Linked DNA regions of Homo sapiens: region 2 is linked to region 1. Evidence: promoter capture Hi-C in human tissues and cell types (Jung and others, 2019). All regions are on one chromosome and are shown on one strand. The core of a region is centred on a gene start or on the middle of the fragment in contact, and the rest is flanking DNA. Distances in the headings are between cores, read along the strand shown.

The links. The method cuts DNA at HindIII sites, captures the fragments that hold promoters and counts their contacts. A contact is called where the count stands out against the background at its distance.
Region 2: a fragment that was not itself captured here is called in contact with the fragment with the promoter of SEMA3F in region 1 in 2 of the 25 tissues and cell types used here (IMR-90 fibroblasts and dorsolateral prefrontal cortex).

Annotation. Positions count from the first base shown.
Region 1 is chr3:50,152,900-50,159,745 of GRCh38, forward strand. SEMA3F (semaphorin 3F) reads left to right here and starts at 2,425. Exons shown (of 19, transcript NM_004186.5): 1 at 2,425-2,665; 2 at 6,676-6,835. The coding sequence starts at 6,724. LOC124909484 (basic proline-rich protein-like) reads left to right here and starts at 1,771. Exons shown (of 2, transcript XM_047449434.1): 1 at 1,771-1,797; 2 at 2,162-2,890. The coding sequence starts at 1,771. The coding sequence ends at 2,890. SEMA3F-AS1 (SEMA3F antisense RNA 1) reads right to left here and starts at 3,186. Exons shown (of 4, transcript NR_135301.1): 1 at 2,835-3,186. RefSeq lists silencers at 1,700-1,759, 1,770-1,909, 1,940-2,409. The HindIII fragment of the contact is 29,271 bases long and covers 1-6,846 here.
Region 2 is chr3:49,998,937-50,005,782 of GRCh38, forward strand. RBM6 (RNA binding motif protein 6) reads left to right here. Exons shown (of 21, transcript NM_005777.3): 6 at 504-577. Among named protein-coding and RNA genes, the nearest start is that of RBM6, 62 kb to the left of the region's middle. The HindIII fragment of the contact is 4,044 bases long and covers 1,387-5,430 here.

The sequences.
Region 1 (6,846 bases), core at 1,175-3,674:
GATAGACTTGCTCGACACAGAGTTGCAACAAACCTTCAACTTCAGAAAACACAATATCTGCAAAACGCAATAAACCACAATAAAATGAGGTCTGCCGATATGTATATGCACACACACACACAAACTATAACAACATATTATGATGATACAAAATGCTCACCCCAGCACTGACACAGAGCAAGGGCTCAGTGTGGATTCACTGCTGCAATAACAATTTTTTTTGTATGATTATTCAGCCCTCTCGAATTGCTTAGGAAGGAATTGGCATTCCACCCCATGTAGCCAGGCTCAATTCTAGCTCTTTGCCCTCTTCCTGGCCCCCTTCCCTGGTCTCCCTGCCATTGAAGGCCTCTGTGTGCTGGGCCTATTCTGTGTGTCTGAGTGGAGCTTCATGAACAGATCAGTTGAGCCTCTTTCCTTCCCAACCCAGTACACTGGAGTCTCTGGCAAGTCCTGACAGCTCTTCCGTGGTAACCAGCATGATGCTAATGATGCTGGAGATAGTGATAGAAGTGGCCAGGCTATAAGGAGACCATGGAGGCTGTGAGAGGATGGAAGGGATGGTGTTGGAAGCCATAGAGATGGTGGCTTAAGCTGTATTGGTGATGGTGGTGCAGTGGTGGTGACCTCAGGGGTGACCCTCATACAGATGAGTGGGGATGAGGAGAGATGGATTGTCACAGTGTTTTCAATGAGGCGTGACAAAGGGGAGAGGTGCAGGTGCTGTCACAGCAGCTCCATAACTCCAGGATGGTGTTTGCTCACCTCAAATGCCCTGCCTGTGCTTGGAGCATGAGGCAGCACTCTAAGTCCTGAGTCAGGAGACCCTCAGCAGGATCCCTAGTGCCCAGCTCCACCTTGCACTTGGAGTCAACCAGTCAATGGGTCAGAGGGAGAGAGGTCTTTTCCTGGAGGTCTTGCTAGCCAGGGAGAGAAGTGGGAGGAGGAAGAAGGCGGAGAGGAGGAGTGAGAAGAAAAAGAGAAAGGAGGAAGAGGGTAAAGAGCAGGAAGAAGGAGGAGGAAGAAGAGAAGGAAATGCATGGGGTGGAGGAAGAGAAGGGAGAGGAGGAGAGGGCAGAGAAGGAAAAATCCAGGAGAAGAGAGGAGAAGGAGGAAAAGGAGGGAGATGGAAAAGAGGGAGAAGAGGAGAGAGGAAGAGGGAGAAGAGAGGGGAGAAGGAAGGAGAGGCAGAGGGAGAAGAGGAGAAAGGAAAGAGGAGAAAGAGGAGGGCACAGAAGACAGAACAGGAAGAGGATGAAGGAGAGGACAAAGGGCCAACGCCCCTGGGAGCCTCCGCAGGGTGCCCGGGGCAGGGCTGAGAAGTGGTCCTGGTGGTGAGGCCATGACCTTGGAAAGTTGGGTTGGGCAGAGGGTCCCTTCCTGGGGTCACGGTAGGCCCTTCTCAGTTGCTGAGCCATTGGCTCATCACCAGGCCATTTGAAAGCAAATGTCCCCTTGAGGAGAGAAGGTGCTAGCTGATCTGGCCTCTCTAAGGTATGGAACTATAAGGAGAGTCTGTGGGAGCTGCTGGCCTGAAATAAGGGCTGGCGATTGAGGCGATCACGGGGAGTCGTTGAATGGCTGGAGAGAGCTGTGTGGCTGGGCTGCCCCCGACCTGGCCTAGGCTGGAGGCTGAGCCCGCGGGAAGGTCCGGCGGTGCCAGCCGTCCCAGGGGCTGCACCGCCACCTGCTGAGCAGCCCGGGCAGTCAGGGGTCCTGCGCCGCGGGGCCCACGCACGGGACCAGGGGCACGGCCGGCGGCGAGTGGGAATGAGGGACGCGGAAGGGGGTGCTCAGGTGAGCGCAGGCTCGTTGCTCCCTGGCGCTGCAGCCCTTCTCGCCAGGGAGTTGAATGCCCGGGTAAACACCAGGCGCGATGTGTGCGGTGTATTCACAGAGAGACAAAGCCAGGGCGGGGCGGGGGCGCCGCCCGCGAAGCGGGGGCGGGGGCGAGGGGTGCAGACTAGTCTCCCCCGGCGCGGGGTGCCCACCGCCTGGGAACCCTGAGCCCGGCCCACGGACAGGTGGAGCGGGGGCGGGGCGGTGGCTGGGCGGGTCCCGCCCCGGGGGTGGGGCTGGGCGGGCCGGGCGGGGCGGGGCTGCGCTATGCAAATGTCGCCCACGGGCGGCCAATTGCCGGCGCTCCCCGCGCGGCTCTGAGCGCCCCGTCCCGCCGGCGGCCGCGAGACCAGAGCGAGCGAACGAACCGCGGCGGTCCGGAGAGCCCCGAGCGCAGCGCAGGACCTGGGTACGCCGCGAGGAACCGTGCAGCCCAGCGCGGCCGCCCGGCCCGGGTCCAGCAGCCAGGAGAGCGCAGCGCTTCGAAGCCGAGTGCGCGCCACCGCCCGCGCCCCGCGCTGGGGAATGCGCCCTCGGCGCGCCGGCCAGGGGGCGCCCGCAGCCCACCCCAGGGGAGGCGGCCCCGAGCGCCCCTGAGCCTTCCCATGGCCCGGGCTGGGGCCCGGGCCCTCGGCTGCTGACGCGCCCGAAGCCCGCGGAACCGGTTAAGCCGCGGCCGCGGCGCCGATCCCGGCTGAGGCGCAGCGGCGAGAGGTCGCGGGCAGGGCCATGGCCCCGGGGGGCCGCTAGCGCGGACCGGCCCAACGGGAGCCGCTCCGTGCCGCCGCCGCCGCCCGGGCGCCCAGGCCCCGCCGCTGCGGAAGAGGTGAGTGCAGCGGGAACCGGGAGGGAGCGGGCAGGCGGCCGGGCCACCCCGCGACCCCTCTGGGACCCGCGGCACTGCAACTCCGCAGAAGTGTCCGGGGAGCGGGTCTCGTCGAGCCGGGGGGCTGCCCGCGGACATAGGGGCAACAAGGCTGGGGTGGGATTCTTACCTGTCCTGGAGGCCCGGACCCCTTACCTACGGGGCGGCGTATGGATGTGTGGATGATGTGGCCTGCGGGGTCACCCATGTGCAAAGCAACTTTTTCCTGCAAGGTTCTGGGTGGGTGCTCTCATACACCCCCACCTTCACGCTTCTGGAGCGGGAGTTCCGATCCCCCTTCTGCCTCAGCTCTCTCTCCCATTAACGCCCGAGGCAGCGCTCTTCCCCGTAGATGCGCTTGCCCTACCTCAGTGTCTCTACTTGAGGACTGGCCAGCCCGAAGGGAAGCGGTATACTGGCAGTCCCCACGTGGGGGGTCTCCCACATCAGCAGAGTGGGAGGACCTCCAGTCCTGAGGCATTTCTCCCAGCATTGTGCCAGCCCCTTGACCCCCAGCTGCCACCTTGGGTTTGCTTTTACAGCAGAGTCCTGCCTGGATTAGGGGCACGGCTGTATGTAGTGTGTAGGTGAGCTTGGAGAGCCTGCGGTCAATCCCTAGTTTGAACCAGGGGTCCCAGTGGTGAAGTGGGCAGGGGACAGCGGGGGCTTGGCGGGGTTGCCCCCAGCAGATGGGACAGGAGGGTATCAAAGTTGGCCTAGGAATGAGGCAGTGCTGGCGGGAGTTGGCTGGAGCTGGGGCTGGGGGCCCCACTGGATAAATAACTCCTAATTTTTGAGATAGCTGTGTTTTGCCACCAGAACATTACTGCTTGGGAGAGGTAAGGGAGACGCCAACCAAAGACACCAGTATGTCCACCCTGAAGCTGGGCCAGGTTGGGGACCTCTGTCCTCCTGAATTCACCCAGATAGTCTCCCAGTAGTTATCCTAGTTGCAGAGAAGGGAAAACTGCACCCAGGGGTTGGGAGCCCCATCTCAGCCCAGGGAGTTGGATGGAGCTGAGGCCTCTTCCCAGGCTACCCAAGGGGTGTGCCAGGACCCCGTAGGGTATAGTGTCTAGGCAGGCGGGGGGCACAGGCATGCCTACTCCTGCTGCTCCCCCTTCAGCTCCGAAGGAGCCAGGCCCGGAAGTGGGGAGGTGGGGGCCGGAGAGAAAGCAGGGGCCAGAGAGAAGGCGGCAGCCCACCCAGCCTCAGCCCCTCGCTGCTCAGCATACCTTGGGGGGAGGATGGAGCCAGGCTCAGGTGACCTTGACTGGGAAACCCTGGCCACAAAAGGGGGGTTTCAGTCCCAGCTATGCTGGGGTGGCTCTGCTTCCTGGTCCTTGAGGTGTTGGGGGATGGGGAAGCTGAGGAGCCAAGAAGGAGACAGAGCTCTTGTTGAAGTGGGGGAGGGAATCTGAGGGGCTGGGTAGCGGGTGGGGTGCTGTTGATAATCTCCCCATGTTCCCCTACGGCCCCTGTTCCTGCCTCCCTTCCATCCAGGCAGTCCTCAGCTCGGAGGAGCCAACCTCCCTTCCTGGAGACAGGCTGTCCACCCCCACCCCCAACTCCAAGCCTGGGCGGTCTGGATCCGGCTGTACAGTTTGGCCACCTGGCCCCCTGTCCCATCCCAGGTGCCTCCGGACTCCTTCCTCTGGCCGCCTCTTCCCTGCACCCCTTGCCAGCCCCGGCTCCTCGTTTCTTTGTTCAAGCGTCTCTCCTCCGTCCCTCCCTCTCTCCTCCCTCTCTCCTCCTCCCTCCCGCCTGCCTCCCTCCCTTGCTCCCTCCCACCAGCCTTCCTTCCCTCCTTCTCTGCTTTCTTCCTGGTGGGCTCCCAGGTGGCGGTGGCTGTTCTTCCTCTGTCCACTGACCTGGGCTTGGTGTGACTTGGGGGCTTTTCTGGGGCTGGGGCTGGGTGACAGGCATCTCGGGACTGGCAGAGGGGAAGGCACTGTGGGTTTGCCCTTTCTTTCCCTCTCTGTCCTTCTTCTCCTTTTCTTCCTTCCCTCTCCTTCTTTCCCCCACCTGCCAGGCTGTCCAAGAGGGGACCTGGACTTGAGACTGAGGCCCCAGCAAACTTGAGCCCCTCCCCATTCACCTCTTTAAAAGGCCAAAGCATTTGGATGGGAAGTCCCTGTAGGGACCCAGTAGAAAGACTCCCCACCTCTCTGGACACATTGGGTGACTCCAACCCTGTCCTTGGTGACACTGACTTTGTCACCATGAACATGGATGAAGGAAAAAATGAGGTCATGGGGAGGGGGGAGGCGGGAGGCAGGTTGACAGGAGCCCCCGTTACATAGTATCGAAGCTCTCTGAGGGACTCAGACGGCATCTTGCGCCAGGACAGTATCTCCCAGCTCCCCTGAGCCCCACCCCACTAGCAGGTCAAGTTCTTGAGCAAACTCATGCTTGTAAGGACGTGTGTGGGCCTGCAAGTGTGAACGTGTGCATATCCACAGCTGTTATCAGGGGCCTCCCAGGTGCACCTTGAGGGTGACGGTGGCTGCACAGCCATTTCTCCCACCTGCCCCCACTTCTCAGAGCCTGCCATTCAGTCAGCACTAGCTTTGTGCCTCCCAGACCTGAGGAGGGGCTGGTTCTGATTCCCCCATCCCCCAGCTAGCCTCCCCAGGAGGCAGCATCTATGACAGGGGATCTGGAAGGACCATGAGCGGTGTGCCAGGCCCTCGGGAGAGAACATTCACACAGAGGGTACCGCGTAAGGAGTGGGCCAAGAGGCTGAAGCTGCACTTCCTGTCTGAGGAGCCATGAGTGGTTTGCCTTGGCAGGAGAGGCCAGGGCTGGGGGAGGTGGGTCTAGGGATGTCATCAGGGTCTAATGAGTGGGGCCTAAGAGTCAGACTGGAGCCTGGGCTTTGCCTCAGCATTGAGCAGCTATGGCAGGGGAGTCCCAGGCCATAGTACTGCCAACTCCCATCCCAGCATCCTAGAGATGGGCCTGGGGTCCTGCCTGCCACGGAAGAAGGGAGTACACAGGGCAGATCTGGGGGATGGGGCTCACATTTTCAGTCTCGATGCCCCCACCCGCAGTGCATCCGGTTGGGGGTGGTGGTAGGAGTTGGCGCTGGTTTGTGCCGGGAGGGAGCAATATGTTCTGACAACTGGTGCTGGGCTGCGTTTACCCAACAGCCAGCCTGCCTGGGGAGACAATATTTGAAAAACACAGTATTGAAACTTGGACCTGCTGGGGCTATGGGGGATTCTGAAGGTGGCAATGCCGCTGGCCCAGATCCAGCCCCAGGCCCACTGGCCATCCTAGCTTCCCTTCTTTGCCCTCTAGAGGCGGAGCTGGAAGTTTTCCCTGGCAGGAAGTCCTTCTGCCTGTCTGACCTGGGTCTCTCCTGCTTTGATTTTAGTACAAGTGGACTCTGCCATTCTCTGCCTTTCCTTTTCTGACTGGTGCTCCCTCTCTTCCATCTTGGGCTGTCTGCATGTGTCTCATTCCCCCACTCTCTCCTGTGCCTCCCCTCTACCGTAATAATCAGGTCCAGGTTTCTCTGTACTGGGAGAAGACCTGTGGCTGGAGCAGGCAGGGATGCACCCTATCTGTTCCCCATTCCTCCAGGTGGGAGGGAGAAGGAGTAACCCACTTTATTGGCCACAGATGCAGGGGAGAAAGGAGAAAGCATGCTGGGAGCTGGAAAGAGCCCTAAGATCACCTGGTTGGTCTGGGCCCTGTGAATGGAATTCAGCATGCCATGAGGGGTAGGGTTTGAGTCTCCAGCAGCCCCCATCAGTTCTGGTGACCCCAGGCTGGGGCCTATTGGTACTATCTCCCCAGACAAAGGCAGGCCAAAGAACGCACATGAGGTGTGCACACAGGGGCATTCATGGCCCCAGGCTGGGGGTGGAAGCGTGGAGGTACCCATCAACCTCTTTGTTCACCTTGGGTAGAAATTGAACTCCCCCATCTGCCTCACACATTCCAATCTTGGTTCCCCTTCCCAGGTTTCTAGAGAGTGGAGCCTGCTTCCTGGGCCCTAGGCCCCTCCCACAATGCTTGTCGCCGGTCTTCTTCTCTGGGCTTCCCTACTGACCGGGGCCTGGCCATCCTTCCCCACCCAGGACCACCTCCCGGCCACGCCCCGGGTCCGGCTCTCATTCAAAGGTAAGAAGCTG
Region 2 (6,846 bases), core at 2,159-4,658, 150 kb before region 1:
TCTGTCAGCACTTCTGTCTTTGAAGGTGGTTTCTGCTTGAAAAGTGGTGACTATTAGCATAGCCTGGGGATAATTGCTTTTTTTTCTTCTCTCGGGATACCTTTTTTTTTTTTTTTTTCCAGATACTTTCTTGCTCTTGTCGACTTTGTTTTTCCAGAAGATTTAGCCTGTGGTTAAAATGTTTCGGGTCCCCACGTGAACTCTCTGTGGGATTACCCAATTCTGGGGTACCTTCACCAGATCACCAGTGCTAAAGAGGGCAAAGGATCTTCTTGGTTAATAGAAAAGGCTGTTTTGGAATGAATCTCAAAGTCCAGAAACATCGAGACTTTTCTTCAATACTTTTTTCTATTTGGGGTAGCAACTTTACCTAGTGTAGGGGAGGGAGGGGTTAGTTGGGAGGGCTTGTGTTTAAGGGGTTCAGAAACAGGGGATTTAAGTGTGTCTTTTGTGTTTGCAAGGCACTAACACCACTCCCGTCTGTATTTAAATGCTGTCCCCAGGTTACGACTATGGCTATGTCTGCGTGGAGTTTTCACTCTTGGAAGATGCCATCGGATGCATGGAGGCCAACCAGGTTGCTTTATACTTCGGTCAAATGATGCTGGAAGGATATATTTTTTTATATATGGGGAGGGAGGGTTTCAAATGATTTTACTTTGGAAAGGTACAAGAAGTCTATCTGTGGAGCATACTGTATTCCAACCATCGGTTGTGAGGAAAATCTTTAAAAAGGCTGGAAAGCTTTCTCTACAAAACTTAATGGGCACAGAGTGCATTTTAAAAGCTAGAGCCCAGTTGCTTTTGGACTAGATTCCAAAGACAATAGTTGGAAAAAAAAAAAAAAGACACATCTGGAGTGTTTCCTTTTGGAGTGTGACTGAGATGGTAATCCTGATGCAAAGAATGATCCTTGATTGTCTGTGACCCCAAGGATCTGCCTAGCACAGAAATTCTAGGTCAATAGTTACACCCAGACCTAGGGTGAAGACCTCTGATGGTGACTTCTGTGGCATCAGATCCTGCCTGCAGGGGCTACTTCCAAAAGAGAGCTATCAGGGAAGAGAGAGGAGTGGATTGTTGGTGTCTATTGCATTCATCATTGTTTTTTGCCAATTGGAGTTGCATACTCAAGTCCTTGGCTGCGTATAGTCAGAGCTGGTGAATCAGAATCTGTACTCACCTTACGTTTGAACTATCTGGAGTTACTCAGCTTGCCACCTAGATTTTTCATCTATGTCTTTAATAGAACCCTACCTGGTAGTTTTGAGAGGAATTAATAAATAGGTAGAATCCTTCTTGTTATGGTGCTTCCTTGGGGAAAGTTGTTTTCTTTGGGTTGTTTCAGTTCCTCCATCTGTAAAGTAGGAAAAGAAACTTAGGAATATAGTTTGATGTGTTTTTTTTTTCTTTTTTTTTTTTTTTAATGTACCCACTGCCTATACTTAACAGTGTGAATACAGTGGGCCCAGAATCTTTCTTTCTTTCTTTTTTTTTTTTTGAGACGGAGTTTTGCTCTTGTTGCCCAGGCTGGATTGCAATGGTGCGATCTCGGCTCACTGCTACCTCCACCTCCCTGGTTCAAGCGATTCTCCTGTCTCAGCCCCCTGAGTAGCTGGGATTACAGGCATGCGCCACCACGCCGGCTAATTTTGTATTTTTAGTAGAGATGGGGTTTCTCCATGTTGGTCAGGCTGCTCTCGAACTCCAGACCTCAGGTGATCTGCCTGCCTCGGCCTCCCAAAGTCCTGGGATTACAGGCATGAGCCACCGTGCCCAGCCAGGCCCAGAATCTTAAAAGAAGGCTCTGCCAGAGAAGAGTAGTTATTAGATGAGAACTCTTCTTCTTCTGTAGCCTGATGCTTTGTTCAGCTTTGTTTAACTCAGTGTGGCTCATTATACGTACTTTTCTCTTCTTGGCCAAGTTCTCCTCTTATGGGTATGGAGATGACATGCTCTAAATGCTTTGGGAGCAAGCACTCATTAGAGAAGACTTTTGATGTATCCTTATCTTGTTAGTAGTTTAAGCTTGTCAGATCCTTAAAGAATGACAGGCTTAGGACCATATCCCCTAGACTTAAGAGGATTCTCATTGACCATTTGTTCAGTGTCCATCACTGAATCACTTACCAAATACAGTTGACACTCTGTATCCACAGGTTCCACACCCATAGATTCAACCAAATGCTGATTGGACATATTCAGGAAAAAAATGCATTAACACTGCAACAATAAAAAATAATACAGGCCAGGAGTGGTGGCTTACTCTGTAATCCCAACATTTTGGGAGGCCCGGGTGGGAGGATTGCTTGAGGCCAGGAGTTTGAGACCAGCCTGGGCAACACAGGGAGACCCCATCTCTACAAAAAATAAAAGTGAAAAAATTAGCCAAGTGTGGTGGCTATCAACTTGGGAGGCTAAGATGAGAGGATTACTTGAGTCTGGATTGAGACTGCAGTGAGCTGTGATCACTCTGCTGCACTCTAGCCTGGGGTGACAGAGTGAGACCCCGTCTCAAAAAACAAAAAAGTACAGTTAACTATTTATATAGTCTTTATTAGGTATTAGATATAAGTAATCTAGAGATGGTTTAAAGTATGTTGGAGGATGTGTGTAGGTTGTATGCAAATACCATGTGATTTTATATAAGGGACTTGAGCATCCTGAGATTTTTGTGTCCTTGTGGGTCCTGGAACCAATCCCCTGTGGACACCAAGGGACAACTGTACTAACCATGTGTCAGAAACTGCTACATGCCAATTTTGGAGAGAAGAAAAAAGCTTCCAATCTGTGTGCTTTCGGTGGATCCTATTCTGACAGTCTGTCCAATTTTGAGAACACTCATTAATTCATAAGCAGTGAATGTGATTAAGTCGTTCGCCTCTGTGCTAAATACTCAATGTAATAGCTGATAGCTGAGTGCTATAAAGAAAATGAAGCAGGGTATTGGGAGAATGCATCATGGTGGCAATTTTAGAGGGGTGGTCAGGGAAACTTCTTGAGGAGTGACATACATTTAAGTTGTGACTCTTGGCGAATAATGTATCCAGAACACTTACTATAGTACCTAGCACTTGGTAGCATTTGAATTAATTTGAAATTCAGTGTCCTTCTTTCTCTCTCTTACCCTCCTCCACATGTCAAGTAATTTCCAATTATAAATTTTGTGTGTGTGTGTGAGACGGAGTCCAGCCAGGCTGGAGTGCAGTGGCGTAATCTTGGCTCACTGCAACCTCCGCCACCCGGGTTCCAGAGATCCTCCTGTCTCAGCCTCCCAGGTAGCTGGGACTACAGATATGCGCCACCATGCTTGGGTAAATTTTTTTTCTTTTTTTTTTTTTTTGAGATGGAGTCTCGCTCTGTTGCCCAGGCTGGAGTGCGGTGGCACGATCTCAGCTCATTGCAACCTCTACCTCCTGGGTTCAAGTGATTCTCCTGCCTCAGCCTCCCAAATAGCTGGGATTACAGGTGCCCGCCACCACACCTGGCTAATTTTTGTATTTTTAGTAGAGATGGGGTTTCACCATGTTTGCCAGGCTGGTCTGGAACTCCTGACCTCAGGTGATCCGACTGCCTTGGCCTCCCAAAGTGCTGGGACTGCAGGCGTGAGCCACCATGTCCTGCCAATTTTTGTATTATTAGTAGAGATGGGGTTTCACTATGTTGGCCAGGCTGGTCTTGAACTGCAGACCTTAGGTGATCTGCCCACCTTGGCCTCCCAAAGTGCTGGGATGACACGCACGAGTCACCGTGCCTGGCCTTCAATTATAATTATAAGAAAATAAATTTATTTTTATATCTGAAGTTTAATAAAACTAATTCTTTAAGGAAATGGATGTGGATTAAACTCCTTATGACATAGTAAACAATCTTATGAGAGACATAAGAATGTGAGGGAAGAAGTCCTGTCTCCTCAGGGTGAATAAAGTAAATATTTTGGGAGGCTGAGGCGAGCGGATCATGAGGTCAGGAGAGCAAGACCATCCTGACCAACAAGGTGAAACCCCGTCTCTACTAAAATACAAAAAAATTAGCCAGGTGTGGTGGCGCACGCCTGTAGTCCCAGCTACTTGGGAGGCTGGGGCAGGATAATTGCTTGAACCCAGGAGGTGGAGGTTGCAGTGAGCCAAGATTGCACCACTGCACTCCAGCCTGCTGACAGAGCAAGACTCTGTCTCAAGAAAACAATAAAATTGAATAAATAAATAAATAAATAAAATAAATATTTGTGGAAGATAAAATGTGTTTGTAGGCCGGGCACTATGGCTCAAGCTTATAATCCCACCACTTTGGGAGACCAAGGCTGGAGGATCACTTGAGCCCAGGAGTTTGAAATGAGCATGGGGTAAATAGTGAGACCCTGTCTAAATTTAAAAAAAAAAAAAAAAAAAAAAAAGTCTTTGTCTATCCTTTCCCCCAGTTTTACTTACAGACCAAATTGGTATGGATTCTGAGTCACCACGATCTGCTTGGCAACTCTTAGTAGAGCCTGAGTGTGTGTGTGCCTCTGAGAAGGTTACTCCGAAGTACTTTGAGTTTTTTTGTAACTCTTTGCTATTCCGACTCTTGATGTGAAATGTCTTTTATTTATCATTGGCTGGTACTTGTAGGCCTAGGGGATGGAAATAAAGGAATTTTCTGCTAGCTTGCTTTGTCAAATATTGTTGGGTATGTGTGCCTTCGTGAAGTTGCTCAAGATGATAACCAAGGTCCCTCTAGCCTTTTCCTGGTGCCTAGATCAAGCTGTTAAACAGTAGGATGCTCTGCAGCAGTACTGAGCTTTGTGGCTGTGGTGACCGATCAGGGTATCACTTAGGCAGCAGCTGTCTATCTGGAGAAATAATTTCCAACAGGTATGAAGGTATGAATCTGTTAGTCTGTACCATCACCATTTCTGTCTAGGAGAAGGGGGCAGCCAGCAAGCACTGTCAGGCAGAGCCTTTCGTTCCACCCTTCCTGCAAAGTGTATTTCTAGCCCTGTCATATGCCCTTGGCTTTCTTTGTTGTCAAGTCTCTGGGAGATTGAGGGTACATATTATTTCCTTCTGCTTTGTGTGCCCTTGCACTGGGACTTGGGGAGGGGAGTAAGAAGTATTGTGTTAAAATGTTAATCCCTTTCATTGGTTGCCCAGTTGTGAGTACTAGCCCTCTCAGACTGTTGGCATTTGGTATGCAGGGATTAGCATTTTATGTTCTCAAGTATGCTGGTGTGATGCTTATTGTCTATTATTTGGCCAAATTAGTCACTAAAGTGCCCTTATAGAAGATAACTCTGGGAGAGGTATTTATTTCTCTGAAATTTTTATTCTCCTTTCCCCTTTCCTTTCCTTTCCTTTTTCTTTTTCTTTTTTTCTTTCCTTTTTCTCCCCTCCCCCCCCTCCCCTCTCCTCTTATTGGAGACAAGGTCTCCCTCTGTCACCTACGCTGGAGTGTAGTGGTACAATCATGGCTCACTGCGGCCTCGATCTCTTGTGCCGAAGTGATCCTCCCAACTCAGTTCTCTTTAGTAGCTGGAACTACCACCACCACAGCTGGCTATTTTTTTTTTTTTTTTTTTGTAGAGGCAGGGTTTTGCAACATTCCCCAGGCTGGTCTTGAACTCCTGGACTCAAGCAATTTACCTATCTCGGCCTCCCAAAGCACTGGGATTCCAGGTGTGAGCCACTATGCCTGGCCTATTTTTAAATTTTTATTTTTTTGAGACTTAGGGTTCTGTTCTGTTGCTCAGGCTGGAGTACAGTGGTACGATGAGAGCTCATTGCAGCTTTGAACTCCTGGGCTTAAGCAATCCTCTCACCTCAGCCTTCTGAGTAGCTGGACTACAGGCACCTGCCACCATGTTCGGCTAATTAAAAAAATAACAAACTCTGTTCGTAAAGATGGGGTCTTGCTGTGTTGCTCAGGCTGCTCTTGAACTCCTTGCCTCAAGTGAGCCTCCCACCTGGACCTGCCAAATTGCTGGGATTATAAGCATGAGCCACTGCGCCCAGCCTTACTCACCTTTTTGTATGACACTATCAGTCTTTCTAAAGTGCAAAGAAAAAGGGTTCTGTTATCATCTGATGTGAAAATTCCTTTAAACATTGACTTTTTCTGGTGTGAGGAATGAAAGCTGTGGAATACGTGAAGTTTTATGAAATAGTGTTTTTTTGTGTGTGTGTCAACAAAATTAAGAGAGTTTGGGTTATTGAAGATACAAGAGTGTTTTTGAAGGTATATATAGGAAACCAAATCTCAAATGTGGTCTGTCCTTGTGATTAAAATTAGAGCAATAGGGAAGCCAGGTGTGATGGCTCACACCTGTAATTCCAGCACTTTTGCAGGCTGTGACAGGAGGATCACTTGAGCCCAGGAGTTGAGTCCAGCCTGGGTAACATAGCAAGACCTCATCTCTACAAAACATTGTTAAAAATTAGCTGGGTGTAGTGGCACATGCCTATTGTCCCAGCTATTTGGAAGGCTAAAGTGGGAGGATTGCTTGAGCCTGGGAGGTCAAAGCTACAGTGAGCCGTGATTGTGCCACTGCACTGCAACCTGGGCGACAGAGAGATCCTGCCTCAAAAAAAAAAAAAAAAGCAACAGAGAAAGCTTATGTTTTTAGTGATGAGAATGCTATTTGTGAGGCCATGATGGAAAAAATTGAAGAACCTAGTTTGTTGGAAACTTAAATTGGTAGTAAAGACATAATACTATCTGAAACACTTTAGTACTTAAATTGTGTGCATTCCAAGCAACAAAACCAATAATCTGTAGGTTGAAGGTTGTAGTGTTACCTAAACAACTATCACCCCAAAAACACTTCATTGAGGAGTATCCAGCATCCTAGCCAGAGCTCAACTGTATAAC